3 separate regions of the Homo sapiens genome follow, and all the other regions are linked to region 3. The links are contacts of gene promoters, found by promoter capture Hi-C in blood cells and fetal thymus (Javierre and others, 2016). All regions are on one chromosome and are shown on one strand. Each heading gives the region's core, a stretch centred on a gene start or on the middle of the fragment in contact. The rest is flanking DNA. Distances are from core to core; before and after follow the strand shown.

The links. The method cuts DNA at HindIII sites, captures the fragments that hold promoters and counts their contacts. A CHiCAGO score of 5 or more calls a contact.
Region 1: a fragment that was not itself captured here is called in contact with the fragment with the promoter of FAM131A in region 3 in 7 of 17 cell types (naive B cells, M1 macrophages, M2 macrophages and 4 more); the score reaches 6.7 in naive B cells.
Region 2: a contact is called between a fragment that was not itself captured here and the fragment with the promoter of FAM131A in region 3, in 2 of 17 cell types (M0 macrophages and M1 macrophages). The highest score is 6.4, in M0 macrophages.

The regions. Positions count from the first base shown.
Region 1 is chr3:184,781,008-184,785,580 of GRCh38, forward strand. No RefSeq gene overlaps it. Among named protein-coding and RNA genes, the nearest start is that of LINC02069, 10 kb to the left of the region's middle. RefSeq lists an enhancer at 102-602. The HindIII fragment of the contact is 4,924 bases long and covers 1-4,458 here.
Region 2 is chr3:183,892,696-183,896,836 of GRCh38, forward strand. It overlaps the pseudogene CYP2AB1P. Among named protein-coding and RNA genes, the nearest start is that of MIR4448, 8.0 kb to the left of the region's middle. The HindIII fragment of the contact is 3,780 bases long and covers 342-4,121 here.
Region 3 is chr3:184,335,088-184,339,623 of GRCh38, forward strand. It overlaps FAM131A (family with sequence similarity 131 member A), which reads left to right and starts at 2,513. Exons shown (of 6, transcript NM_144635.5): 1 at 2,513-2,631; 2 at 3,300-3,442. The coding sequence starts at 2,544. It overlaps EIF4G1 (eukaryotic translation initiation factor 4 gamma 1), which reads left to right. Exons shown (of 33, transcript NM_198241.3): 33 at 1-266. RefSeq lists silencers at 717-1,146, 1,063-1,263, 1,187-1,256 and an enhancer at 3,055-3,666. The HindIII fragment of the contact is 18,780 bases long and covers 1-4,536 here.

The DNA.
Region 1 (4,573 bases), core at 747-3,246, 450 kb after region 3:
TGCAGTCCTGAAGCTGGCCCTCTCTAAGACCAGACCTCGGCCCCAGTGCAACCAGCCACCTGTGCCTGCCTCCCTGGCCACCCGATGAGAGGTCCTGGGATTGTTTGTCTTCGGTTCCATGGATTGATCCTTGCAGGCTGGGCCAGGCTGGCCCTGACCATAAGCCACCTGGGTCACCTGCAGCTGTTTCCCAGGTGCCTGCTAGGCCTGCAGGCTGGGGCTGCAGTTGGAAATGGGTCTGGGCAGGAAGTGAAGGGGGAAGTAACCTGTGTGGCTGGGGAGTCAATGAGGCCATCGTGTGAGGGGAGGACTGGAACGCAGTTCTATGATGCATTCCAGGGATAAAGGCTGAGTTACTCACCACAGAGAGGAATCGCTGAAAGCTGCCACCCATCCTGTTTGGGCTCACAAACCTGTCCCTGTTCTGTCCTTTGGATAGATATATAGGTCACTACTGGTGAAGGTCATTTACTGTGGGAGCATGTCAACATCAACCTTGAGCCTGGCTCAATTAGAAACATGGGGTGCTCTGAAGTGGCCTAAAAGTCCCTGGGAAAGGGTGATCCATTTACAGCTGCTTAACCTGGGGCAGGTCACCTCACCCCTCTGAACCTCAGGGCTGATATGAGACAACGTGCATGAAAGGTCACTACGTGGGCAACGCTGATATTATGATGCAGGTGAGGAGACGCAAGAGGCGGCATTCATTCCTTCATTCATTGCTACCTTGTTGTTAGAGATTTAAGGCAAGAGACACAACTGGAAAATGGACAAAGGAAAAATGATTTTGAGGATCTAGAGGATAAGATAAGGTCTGAGATTGTCTCAAGTGGGAATAAAGGAAGTAGAAGGGAGGGTGGCCCTGTAAAGTCAGGCGACCTCTACCTCAAGGTGAGGAGGAGAATGCAGCGGAGGAGGCCCTAGAGGACCTGGTACAGGATCAGTTGGAGAAGTGGGAGGGGCAGAGGGCTGCACATTCCTAATGAGCTTGCCCGCTAATCCCAGAGGGTTGCTGCACTGGGAAAGCACAGGCGGAGACCTCCTAAGATGTCTGGAATATCAAATAACATGGCAGAATGTGAGGCAAATAAATGAGTCAAAAACTTGGACTCTTATAACTCTGCAAATAATTCTTTTTTTTTTTTTTTGAGATGGAGTCTTGCTCTGTCACCCAGGCTGGAGTGCAGTGGCATGATCTCAGTTCACGGCAACCTCTGTCTCCTGGGTTCAAGCATTTCTCCTGCCTCAGCATCCCAAGTAGCTGGGAGTACAGATGCAAGCCACCAGGCCCAGCTAATTTTTATATTTTTAGTAGAGACAGGGTTTCACCATGTTGGCCAGGCTGGTCTCGAACTCCTGACCTCAAGCGATCCACTCGCCTTGGCCTCCCAAAGTGTTGGGATTACAGGTGTGAGCCACCGCGCCTGGCCTCTCTGCAAATAATTCTGACACCTGGGAGTTGCACTTTGTATATCATGCTTTTATATGCAAAGGACTTGTTTCAGCATGTCTGTTCCACTTCCTTGAATAGTGCAAGGGCAGTGGCAGTGCCAAGGAGTGGCTTGGAGAGGTATGTTTTATGCCCCTCATCTTCATGAATCACCCCCGCCTCCCCCCCTCAAAAAAACAACTAAAAATCATGTTTTTGACATGGGCGGGGGATGTCTTCTTACTCTTATGGAAAATGTGAGTACAAGCCCCTTTAGAAAAATTACTGTAAAGCATCAGATGAAGGCCGAGTGTGGTGGCTCACGCCTGTAATCCCAGCACTTTGAGAGGCCAAGGCAGGTGGATCACCTGAGTTCAGGAGTTCGACACCAGCCTGGCCAAGACAGTGAAACCCCGTCTCTACTAAAAATACAAAAGTTAGCTGTGCATGGTGGCAGGCGCCTGTAATTCCAGCTACTCTAGAGGCTGAGGCACGAGAATCGCTTGAACCCAGGAAGCAGAGGTTGCAGTGAGCCAAGATGGCACCACTGCACTCCAGCCTGGGTGACAGAGCAAGACTCCATCTCAAAAAATAAAAATAAGATAAATCAGTTGAATTCTACCACAGCTTTGAGACAAGTCCCTGGCCCTGCTTCCAACCAGATTGCTGTTTCTAAGTTTCTCCCAGGCAGACACCCTAGAGTCCCAGCTCCAAAGGTACTCCGCAACGAACAGAGTGGCCAGGAGGTGCTGGAGGAAGGGAAAGCCCTGTGTGGTCAGGAGTTCACGGGCAGTGGGGATTTTCAGCTGAGCTGGACACAGGGAGGGCAGAGGCAGACTTCCCTCGGAGAGGAGGGCAGAGACAAAGCCTAAGGCAATGGGAGCAAGTCTGGCTGTTCAGGGAGGCCCGGGGTTGGTCTGCTCAAAGGGAGGGTGTCTGGAAAGGAGGAGTAGGAGGTGAGGATGGAGAGATGGTGGTGCCGGATCAAAGGAGGCGTAAGTGCTGGGCGAAGGAAGCAGATCTGTGTCCCTGAGCAGGACCCAGCAGGAGGCTTCCATGCCAAAGAAAGTTTGGGTGAAAATAGGATTTTAGGAACATTAGTCATATATAGAATAAACTGGAGGATGGGGGAGGACCAGTCAGGAAGGTCAGTTAGGAGGTTTTGGCTGTGAGTCCCGCATGAGATGTAAGGACCTAGCCTAGCCGTGTATGGCATAGAAATAAAAGAACAGGCCCGGTATGGTGGCTCACTCCTGTAATCCCAGCACACTGGGAGGCCAAGGCAGATGGATCACCTGAGGTCAGGAGTTTGAGACCAGCCTGGCCAACATGGTGAAACACTGTCTCTACTAAAAATACAAAAATTAGCCAGGTGTGATGGCGTGCGCCTATAGTCCCAGCTACTCGGGAGGCTGAGGCAGGAGACTCACTTGAACCTGGGAGGCGGAGGTTGTGGTGAGCCGAGATAGCACCACTGCACTCCAGCCTGGGGGACAGAACAAGACTCCATCTCAAAAAAAAAAAAAGAAAAAGAAAAGAAAGAAAAGAATAAATAAGGCCGGGCACAGTGCCTCATGCCTATAATCCTAGCACTTTGGGAGGCCGAGGTGGGCAGATCACAAGGTCAGGAGTTTGAGACCAGCCTGACAAACATGGTGAAACCCTGTCCCTACTAAAAAAAAAAAATACAAAAAATTAGCTGGACATAGTGGTGGGCGCCTGTAATCCCAGCTACTTGGGAGTCTGAGGCAGGAGAATCTCTTGAACCTGGGAGGTGGAGGTTGCAGTGAGCCGAGATCGTGCCACTGCACTCCAGCCTGGGCGACAGAGTGAGACTCCTTCTCAAAAAATAAATAGCCGGGCGCGGTGGCTGACGCCTGTTAATCCCAGCACTTTGGGAGGCCAAGGAGGGCGGATCATGAGGTCAAGAGATCGAGACCATCCTGGCCAACTTGGTGAAACCCCGTCTCTACTAAAAATACAAAAATTAGCCAGGCATGGTGGCAGGCGTCTATAATCCCAGCTACTCAGGAGCCTGAGGCAGGAGGATTGCTGGAACCCAGAGGTGGAGGTTGCAGTGAGCTGAGATCGCACCACTACACTCCAGCCTGGCGACAGAGCAAGATCCTGTCTCAAAAAATAAAAATAAATAAATACATAAGAAGTGAAATGGAAGGGACGTGGCAATAGGAGGGGGCAGCCTGAGTAGGAACACAGGAAGGTTACGAGGGGAAGAATGCCCCAGAAGCAGACAACATGGGGACTTGATGTTCCCAGATGCATTCCCAGAAGGGAGCTAGTTAGTTAGGCTGGTTAGTTTCTGCTGTCCAGTCCTTGCTTATGTGGCACAAGAGCAGCAGAGAGATTTTCCACAAACCTCCCCTAGGAGACGGCAGAATGAGGCAGGCAGGGGTTAATATGGTTTGCAAATAAACTGCAGATTAATCCTCAGTGGTACTTAATGCAGGGTAAAACGTGATAAATTATTCACATCGTACAGCGTAATAAGCAGGTTGACTCCGCGGCACCAGGCCTCTTGAGCTGTATTTTACACTTAGTTCGTCCTCTTGTTCCTCTTATTTAATCATTTTCAGAACACCTGACTTAAATAGGTGTTTCAGGTCCCATTTTTTTTCCCTGAAAAAATAAATTAGATCATAGATTCATCTCATGACATTCTGACATTTGCCATCTTCTTACATTAGAATAAACATGATTAGAGAGAAAGGAGCTCAGGAATTAGGCACAGGAGGAAGATGAAATACACTTTTCCTGAGGTTACCCCTTCTGGTCTTTGTGCATGACGGTCGTTGTGCAGAGAGGCTACAGGAAGCTCATTTGCATGTGGGATACAAACCGAATTTGTGGTTAATCTGAAGGAATTAAATCTGCTATTTAGGGCTGACTGAGATTCTCTCTCCCGTGGAGTTGGGTGTCTGGGTAAGAGGTGCTCATAGCCCTCCAGGGTGTCTGTAAAATGTATTAGATGAATGGGGCTTTTGTAGCCAAAAGCCTCCCACTCGTGGGCAAGCTTTCAATGGTCCCAGTCCGTGGCAGCCAGCTCCCCTAAACCATGACTTGATTTCTGCCCTCCCTTCCTCAGGCAGATCTCCCCAAGAAGGGCCCGAGCCCCTGGGCGTAGAA
Region 2 (4,141 bases), core at 982-3,481, 440 kb before region 3:
CACGGTTGGCAATCAACACATGGCAGCTATTGTCATATCGTCATGAGGATATGGAAGCTGAAAGGGAAGCCTATCCACAGGGGAAGGGCTCCCTGCAGCGTCATCATTTTAGAGCTAAAAACAAAGGTGCGAGTACTTTTGGATGCTGTCTAGGGGAAGGAGAGCCCTGCCAACATAAACAGAGCATTCATCACCCGCCAGGCCCTGTGCTGGGCATTGTCACTCCCGACAATCCTAAAGGAAGCCTCCATTTGTCATATGAGGAGACCGAAGCACACAAGGACTGGGTTATTGAGAGCAAAACTGGGATTTCAACCAAGGCCAAAGTCCAGGTGAGGGAAAGCTTCCTGGAGGAGTTGGCCTTTCAATGGAATAACACGCAGAGGGCTGGACAGGATCAAAGACAGGAGGCTGGATGGTGGAGAGGATGAGTGTTAGAAGGGGCTGCAAGCTCCAGACAGGGGCTCTAACAGAGAAAGGGTTAGGAAAGTGAGGTAGGAAGCAGGTGAATTAGAGCCTGGCTTTGTTTTCTCTGCCCCAGATCCTGCCTGGATCACAGAGAGCTGCCAGCTCAGGGTGGGACCTCCCAGGGCCGAGAACCCCAGGCTGTCTCCTGCTCTCTGGGACCCCACTTGCCTAGTGCTTCCCAGTCTGGACTCCCGAGGCCCTGGATATGGCACCGCACAGAAAATAAGATATCTATGAGAAAGCTCCAGGATTTCACAAAGCCTGAAGAAAGGCCAGAGGCTAATTCACACATCATGGTTTTTGTTTTTTGTTAGGTTTTGTTATGAGACAGGGTCTTACTCTGTCAGCCAGGCTGAAGTGCAGTGGCGCGATCTCTGCTCACTGCAATCTTCGCCTCCTGGGTTCAAGCGATTCTCCTGCCTCAGTCACCCAAGTAGCTGAGACTATGGTGTGCACCACCACGCCCGGCTAATTTTTGTATTTTTAGTAGAGATGGGGGTTTAACCATGTTGCCCAGGCTGATCTTGAACTCCTGGCCTCAAGTGATCCACCCACCTCAGCCTTCCAAAGTGCTGGGATTACAGGCGCAAGCCATTAAGCCTGGCCAATACGTCATGTTTTATTTCTGGTTAGACTCCTTTCAGCCTGGTGTAGCAGTAATGATTGATCTCCTACTAATTAGAAACATTGGTTCATTCATATGTACGTCCTTTAAATAACACAAAAGAGAGAGGTAAGGCATTTCCTTTTTTTTTTTGAGATGGAGTCTCATTCTGTCTCCCAGGCTGTAGTGCAGTGGTGCAATCTCTGCTTACTACAACCTCCGCCTCCCAGGTTCAAGCGATCCTCCTGCCTCAGCCTTCAGAATAACTGGGATTACAGGCACGTGCCACCATACCCAGTTAACTTTTTTGTATTTTTAGTAGACAGGGCTTCACCATGTTTGCCAGACTGGTCTTGAACTCCTGACCTCCGGTGATCTGCCCGCCTTGGCCTCTCAAAATGCTAGGATTACTGGCGTGAGCCAACGTGTCCGGCCCGAGGCATTTCCTTTTTAAAGCTCAGATTTATTGAGGCATGGCTTATATACAATAACACTCATTTAAGTGTACAGTTGTATGAGTTTTGACAAACACATACAGTTGTGTAACCATCACCACAATCAAGATACAGAACATTTCTATTACCCCAGAAAGTTTCCTCATGTCTTTTTACAGTCAACCTATAACCCTGCTCCCGAATCCTGGCAGCCACTTATCTATGGAATATTTTCTGTCCCTATAGGTTTGCCTTTTTAAGAATATCACAGAAATGGAATCATATAATTCATAGATATGCATTTGTGTGAACATATATTTTCATTTCTTTTGGGTAATACCTAAGATTGGGACTGCTGGGTTGTGTGGTGTAATGTTTAATTTTACAAGAAATTGCCAAACTGTTTTCCAATGTAGTCGTACCTTTTTACATTTCCACCTGCAGGGTATGAGAATTCCATTTGCTTCGCATCTTTTCCAGTACTTGGGATTGTCAGGGTTTTCTTTTTAGCAGTTCTAATCGGTATGTAATGGTATTTCATTTGATTTTAGTTTGCATTTCCTTGATGCAAGTCAGTCTTTTTTTTTCTGAGACAGAGTCTCGCTCTGTCACCCAGGTTGGACTGTAGTGGTATAATCTCCGCCCACTGCAACCTCTGCCTCCAGGAACTCACAAGTCATTCTTTGTTTTTGCTTTTGTTTGTTTGTTTGTTTGTTTGTTTGTTTTTGAGACAGTTTCACTCTTGGATCCCAGGCTGGAGAGCAGTGGTGCGATCTTGGCTCACTGCAACCTCTGCCTTCTGGGTTCAAGCGATTCTCCTGCCTCAGCCTCCCGAGTAGCTGGGATTACAGGTGCCTGCCACCATGCCCGGGTAATTTTTGTATTTTTAGTAGAGATGGGGTTTCACCATGTTTGCCAGGTTGGTCTTGAACTTCTGACCTCAAGTGATCCACCTGCCTCGGTCTCCCAAAGTGCTGGGATTACAGGTGTGAGCCACCATGCCCAGCCACAAGTCATTCTTTTTTAATAAACAAGGCTTGTCTGGAGATGCAAGGATTCAAAATTTAGGGACCCTTGTGTGGAAACTAAAGTGGGTCTTTGGTGAAGAATTTGCTGGAAACAGTTATATGGTCTGCTGGCTTTGCTGTATTGAGATGGTGAGATCTTTCTCTGCCCCAGGTCTGCAGAGAACTGCAGTTCTTCCTTCTGGTCAGGAGAGGGCAGGAGAAGGCAGAAAATAAGCTGCCCCCGCTTCACTTTTTTTTTTTTTTTTTTTTTTTTTGGTTTACCAGTCCCCGGCATCTAGAGTATTCGCATTTGCATGCATTATTATATTCATAGTTTTGCTCGAAAGTTTGCCTTTTCCTCTGAACCTAGTTAGCTGCTGCCTTGTGAGGCTTGATTCCCCAATATTAACTTTGTGGACTGATTTAATGCCAAACTTAACCAATCTTATAAAATCTTCGCCTGCCAAAGCATAACTAACCTAATTTAAGAATTGAACTACCCAAACTGAGCTACCTCTGTAGAATCCTTGCTAAGTCTATTCTCCAGTGTCACCCCACAGAGCTTGTGTTAGGGGCAACCATGAGCAGCTGAGCTGCATGAACCCCTGGTCCTCCTCTTTTCTAACTTTGCAGGAACCAAAAGAGACTGAGGAAGGACTTCATGGGGGACAGGCCTCCAGACCCCCAGTGGCTACAGGCCATCCTCCCTAGGACCAGGGCTGGGGCTGCTCAGGCGGGGCACTGCGCAGATCTCCTGGGGCTGGGGTTGCCAAGTGCCGCCAAAGATGTACTCCAGCTTGAGCCCCGGGCTCCCTTCTGGCAGTTGGAACCGAAAGGTCCTGAGGAGGGTGGCAAACATCAGGAAGAGCTCCATTTGAGCCAGCTGGTCTGCTGGGTAGACACGATGCCCTGGAAACAGAGAGAAAAGTCAGAGGTGGCAGCTGTCCCTGTGTCTGTCCCACCACAGCCCCACCCACCACCCAGGATCCAGCTCTGTGCCTAGTACCTGCAGAGAATGGCAGGAAGGCCTCATTGGCCACAAAGTTTCCATCCTTGTCCGAGAAGTGGCCAGGGTTGAACTGTCGAGGGGTCTCCCAGCACTCAGGGTCATAGAGCACAGAGGCCAGGTTGGGTAAGATGATGGTGCCCTGCAGAGAGATGCTGGTGTGGCTCAGGGAGCCTCAGATGGTACCCAGTACCCAGCCCTGACACTGAGCCACAGTGAGCTTGGAGAATACCCAGTGTGTTGGTGGGAGTAGTCCAGGGGCCTTGAGGAGACTCAGCAGCCGGCCCTCAGGCTGCCCTTCCTCCAGGCTCACATCAGTGAAGGAGCTGAGCAGGACACCCTCCTGGCTAAGGACTGCCCAGCTTTGTCCTGAAGACTCCCAGCCACGTCTAGGGACATGAAGCCATTGCCTCCTACAGAGAAGGCCAACAGCTGGGGGCATGTCTGGAAGGGGCCAAGGACAGCCCAGGACAATACACACTGGGGCAGGGGATGTGTGCACACGTGGGTGTTAAGAGGAAGAGACAGAACGAGGAGAAATGGAATGGCAAACAAGCAGAGAAAGAGGAACTGAGTGATGGAAAGACAGAGAGGAGACAGCAAGCTTCACTCTTTAGGGTTG
Region 3 (4,536 bases), core at 1,263-3,762:
GGATGCCGCCAGGTGTCCCTCTCCTCCCCCTGGGGCACAGAGATATATTATATATAAAGTCTTGAAATTTGGTGTGTCTTGGGGTGGGGAGGGGCACCAACGCCTGCCCCTGGGGTCCTTTTTTTTATTTTCTGAAAATCACTCTCGGGACTGCCGTCCTCGCTGCTGGGGGCATATGCCCCAGCCCCTGTACCACCCCTGCTGTTGCCTGGGCAGGGGGAAGGGGGGGCACGGTGCCTGTAATTATTAAACATGAATTCAATTAAGCTCACTGCCTTTCTGCTTTATGCCCTGCTCCCTCTAGAGAAGGTGTTTATAGGTGGGGATCCTTCCCAGAGCTGGTACTGTAGCGCTGTTCCCTGTAACCTGGCACCCCTCCTGCCTCTTCCCCTGTCCATGATTGCAGGGATCTGAGGTTTCCTGGAAGGTTGGGCCCTCAGATGGGCTTGATAGGTGCCTTCCTGGTCCGGAGAAAAGGGAGATTAGTGATAGGACATCCTTGCTAGGCTCTGCTCTCCTACCAGAATGATTCAAGCCCCTGTGTGGGGAAGGCTTTTGGGTTTCGGGTTGTTTATAGCTGGAGAATCCCTTTATGGCTTGAAGGTGTCATCTGTAAAATGAAGGGGCTGGATGCATGAAGGGAGGTTTTGCGACCCCGTGTAGTGTGACTGGGCTGGCTTAGTGAGTGTTCGCCGCCCCTGCCTTCAGGTGGCAGTCGGCTCTGGGAGGAGAGGACCGGCATTTTCGAACCCGGTCCAGGCCGCCTCTGCGTGGCTGTGACGTCGCTGCGCCCCGCCTACTTTGGGTGGTGACGCGGCGGTCACGCCCCCGCGCTTACGTCACCGGCCCGGTTCCCTCTCCGGGGAGCGGCGGCGGACGCGCGGCTCCCACCCCTCCCCTCTCACGGGCTCTCCCCTCCCCAGTGTGGCCGCGACCCTACCCTCTGCAAGGCGATGGCCCGCGCCCCGAGCGCAGGCTAGCGTGCCTGGGTGCCCGGCCATGGGCTGTATCGGCTCTCGGAGCCCGGCGGGTCAGGGTAAGAGGCGGAGGCCGGGTACGGGTTGGGGAGTCGGGCTGCGGCCGCCGGTGCGCGGGCCGCGGGTGGGTGGGGGCCTTGAGGAGGGGGCCGGTGTCGGGAGAGGGAGGAGCCTGCACCGGGAGGCGGGCCAGGCAACAGGAGGGAGCGGGAATGAGCAGGGAAGGGGCCAGACCGACTCCGGTTCGCTCCCACGGCCTGCCTGCCTTGGGGTTTTGCAGGGCAGACGCATGGTCTCGCCGCTGGCTGCCGTGTGCCCACTGCTCAGGGTGGCCGGAGACGCACAGCCCCGGGAGGGGCTGGGCAGCCCGATGCCCCCACCACTCCAGCCCTCGGCGACTGGCCTTGCGCGCCCACACACACACTCCCCTCCGCCTACACCTCTGCCTTCACAGTCCTGGGAGTGGCCCTGTGCTGGGAACCTGCTTCTCCCAGCCGTGTCCCCATCTTCTTAAAGAGGTAGCCTTTCGGTCCTGGCTAAGCACCCTACCACAGAATTTTTGTCGGACATTGACTCCCCTCTTCAGTCAGTCGGCGAAGGGGGACTGAGGTCCCGTTTGGGGCACCTGTGAACACTGAATCACCTCTCACCTATTACAGTTGTTTTAATGTCCTGCCCCCACTCAGCAAAAACAAATCACTCTACTCTGTGGAGGGAAAGAGGAACCCAGAGGCAGGCCATCAGGGCTTCCTTCCCACAGTGCTGACCCCTGCCTGGGCCTCGGTTTCCGTGGGTGGCCATGCACACCGGGCCTGGCCGTAGTCCTGTGCATCAGAGGTCGGCCAGCTTCCTTTACTCCGGTGTGGTGGATTTCTCCACGCATAAGGCAAGGCAGGACTGGGTTTGGGATGGGTCCTGGACCTTCAGGGCAGGTGGTCAGTCACACAGGCCTTGGTGTGGTTGGTACTTGATGTTCTTTGGAGCTAAGACTGGCTGAGATTTGTACTTCCCTTGAGGAATTCTGGGATTTGTAGTCCTAAGTTAACCTCGTGGCTTTTGAAGCTGAGGAGCAGCTGACTGCTCTGATCTCTCTGGCCCTATCAAGGCTTGGAGTTCAGGAAGTCATCACCTTCTCTTGTCAGGGGTGAGTTTGGCTGACCTCAGGACTGGCCTCGAGAGCCCTGGTTAGGTACCAGTTGGGGGCCAGGGATGGCCTGTAACCTCCTGTTTTCCTTCTGGTTGGTAGCATTTCTGGGGACCAACAGCTGGCCGAGGCTCAGGGATAGAGACGGCTGCTCCAGCTAAAGGTCAGTTGTGATGTACATTGCCTGTTGGCACTGTCTAGGGAATGGGCCTCAGCTCCCCGAGTCCCAGAGAGCTTGGCTGAGCCCTGGTGTTCCCACCTCCTCAGAGCCATGAGGCAGGAATGTTCTCCTTATGTGACTAGGCACAGGTTCCAAATGGGGAGGGGACTGGCTCAGCATCCGGAGCCAAAACAGGAATAGAACTGGGAGCTGAGCCTGGAGCGGTTCTGGGCTTTTGGTTCTCTGCATCAACACAGCCAGCATGCCTATGATTTCTGTGCTGGGCAAAATGTTTCTGTGGCAGCGTGAAGGGCCTGGAGGACGATGGACTTGTCAGACAAGTCGCAGAGGTGAGACCAGGGATCATGGATGTGATCTGGGAGATGATGGGAAGCTGAGCAGTAGGGTGCTTAGGTGGAAAAGGAAAATTACTCTGGCTTAGATATTAAGAACCAGGCTGAAACAGGGAGAACCAGGCTGGGGCCAGACAGGGCATCAGGAAACGGCTTCAGGGGACAGGGGTGAAAATCAGAAAAAATATCATGAGTTCGTCAGAAAAGAAGAGTAAAGAGCTGTGGACCAGCTGAGGCTGGCGAGAGGAAAGAAGGCAGCAGGAAGAGAGAAGGAAGGCAACCCTCCTGCAAAGGGTCCAGGGTGGCGGTGGTGGGGGGGACAGTGATGGCGGAAGAACTCAGTGTGCTTTCCAAGAGGAATGGGTAGGCTGGGAAACGGGAAGGAGAGTCAGAATTTATCATTGTTTGGTTTCACCCTAGGGTTTTGAGGCAAAATTTATCCAGAGCAGGAAGGTGGCAAGTGGGCTGCCACAGAATGGCCCCAGGGGCCCGAGGGTCAGTGATGTGTGGGATGGGGGCTTTTAGAGTTGAGGAGAGCACTCAGTGGGCGCTGGTCTTCTGGAAGGTGGGGGAGGGGCCGAGAAATGATACGGCAATACTGGATGAAAATGGGGATCTCTGCAGAAGTAGGGGCACAGCTCAACAGCCTTTCCCCTTCCTCTCAGTGTCCTCGGACCCCGCTTGGGCTGTGGAGTGGATCGAACTTCCTCGGGGTCTCTCTCTATCCTCTTTGGGATCTGCTCGAACCCTCCGAGGCTGGAGCAGGTCCTCCCGCCCTTCCTCGGTGGACAGTCAGGACTTGCCAGAGGTGCTGGGCCCCTGGTGGTGGGGGGAAGGAGGACGTCATCCATATAAAGGGGATCTGCAGCCCCCACCCACGCCTGGCCAGCCAGCTTCTGGCTCCCTTTTCCGGCGGGCGGAGGCGCTATCCGGCGGCGGGCCGGGAGGCCGCCCCCGTGCCGGTCTGCTCTGCTCGGCGCTGTGCCAGCAGGCGGAGAGCTCGCGCCTTCCGCGCTGACGTCAGCGCATCCCGGGCCGTATCCCGGGAGACCCTGTTGCGTGGTGATGGGTTGCCAGGGAGACATACACCTTTTCTCTGGGCCTGGGCCGCAGCTGCGCGGAGCGCCGGGCACGGATGGCGGCGGCTGAGGGGAGCGAAGCGAGGGAGGGAGAGCAAGCTAAGAAACACCCAGCAGGTGCTCCCCCGCCTAGGCCTGGCTGGAGGCTACTGGCGCCACCCTGGGGGCCCTGTCAGCCAGGTACCCAAGGGGAGGGATCGAGGGTGGGCCTCAGGTCAAGGGGCAGTGTTGGCTGCCCTTGTGAGGGACGGGAACGTGATAGAAGAGAGCTGGGCAATGCCGGGGAGGGATGTGTGCCTCCAACTTCATTAAGTGAGGGAAACATTTGCTGGGGCTTGTCAGGGAGCCCTGAGCCAGGTACAGGGTGGAGTTAGGAACTTACGTGCATCAGACTTAGGCCTTGCCATCCTGAGCTCCCTCGGGAGACAGACAAGGGCAATGATGGGGGCGGGGTGTGTCAGAGAAAAGAAGAGGCTGTCGGCTGAAAGCATTATTTGCAGGTGACACTTGAGATGGGCCTTAAGTGATGGCAAGCATTTTTTCACGTAAGGATGGCATTCTTGGCCCAGAGGAAAGCTGAGTTCCTTTTCCTGGAGGCAGGCGGGCTGCTTGCTGACAGGGATTGGTGGAGAAGGGTTTTTGTTTTTTGTTATTTATTTTTATGTATTTATTTATTTGAGACGGAGTTTCGCTCTTGTTGCCCAGGCTGGAATGCAATGGTGCGATCTCGGCTCACCGCAGCCTCTGCCTCTGGGGTTCAAGCGATTATCCTGCCTCAGCCTCCAGAGTAGCTGGGATTACAGGCATGCGCTGCCACGCCCGG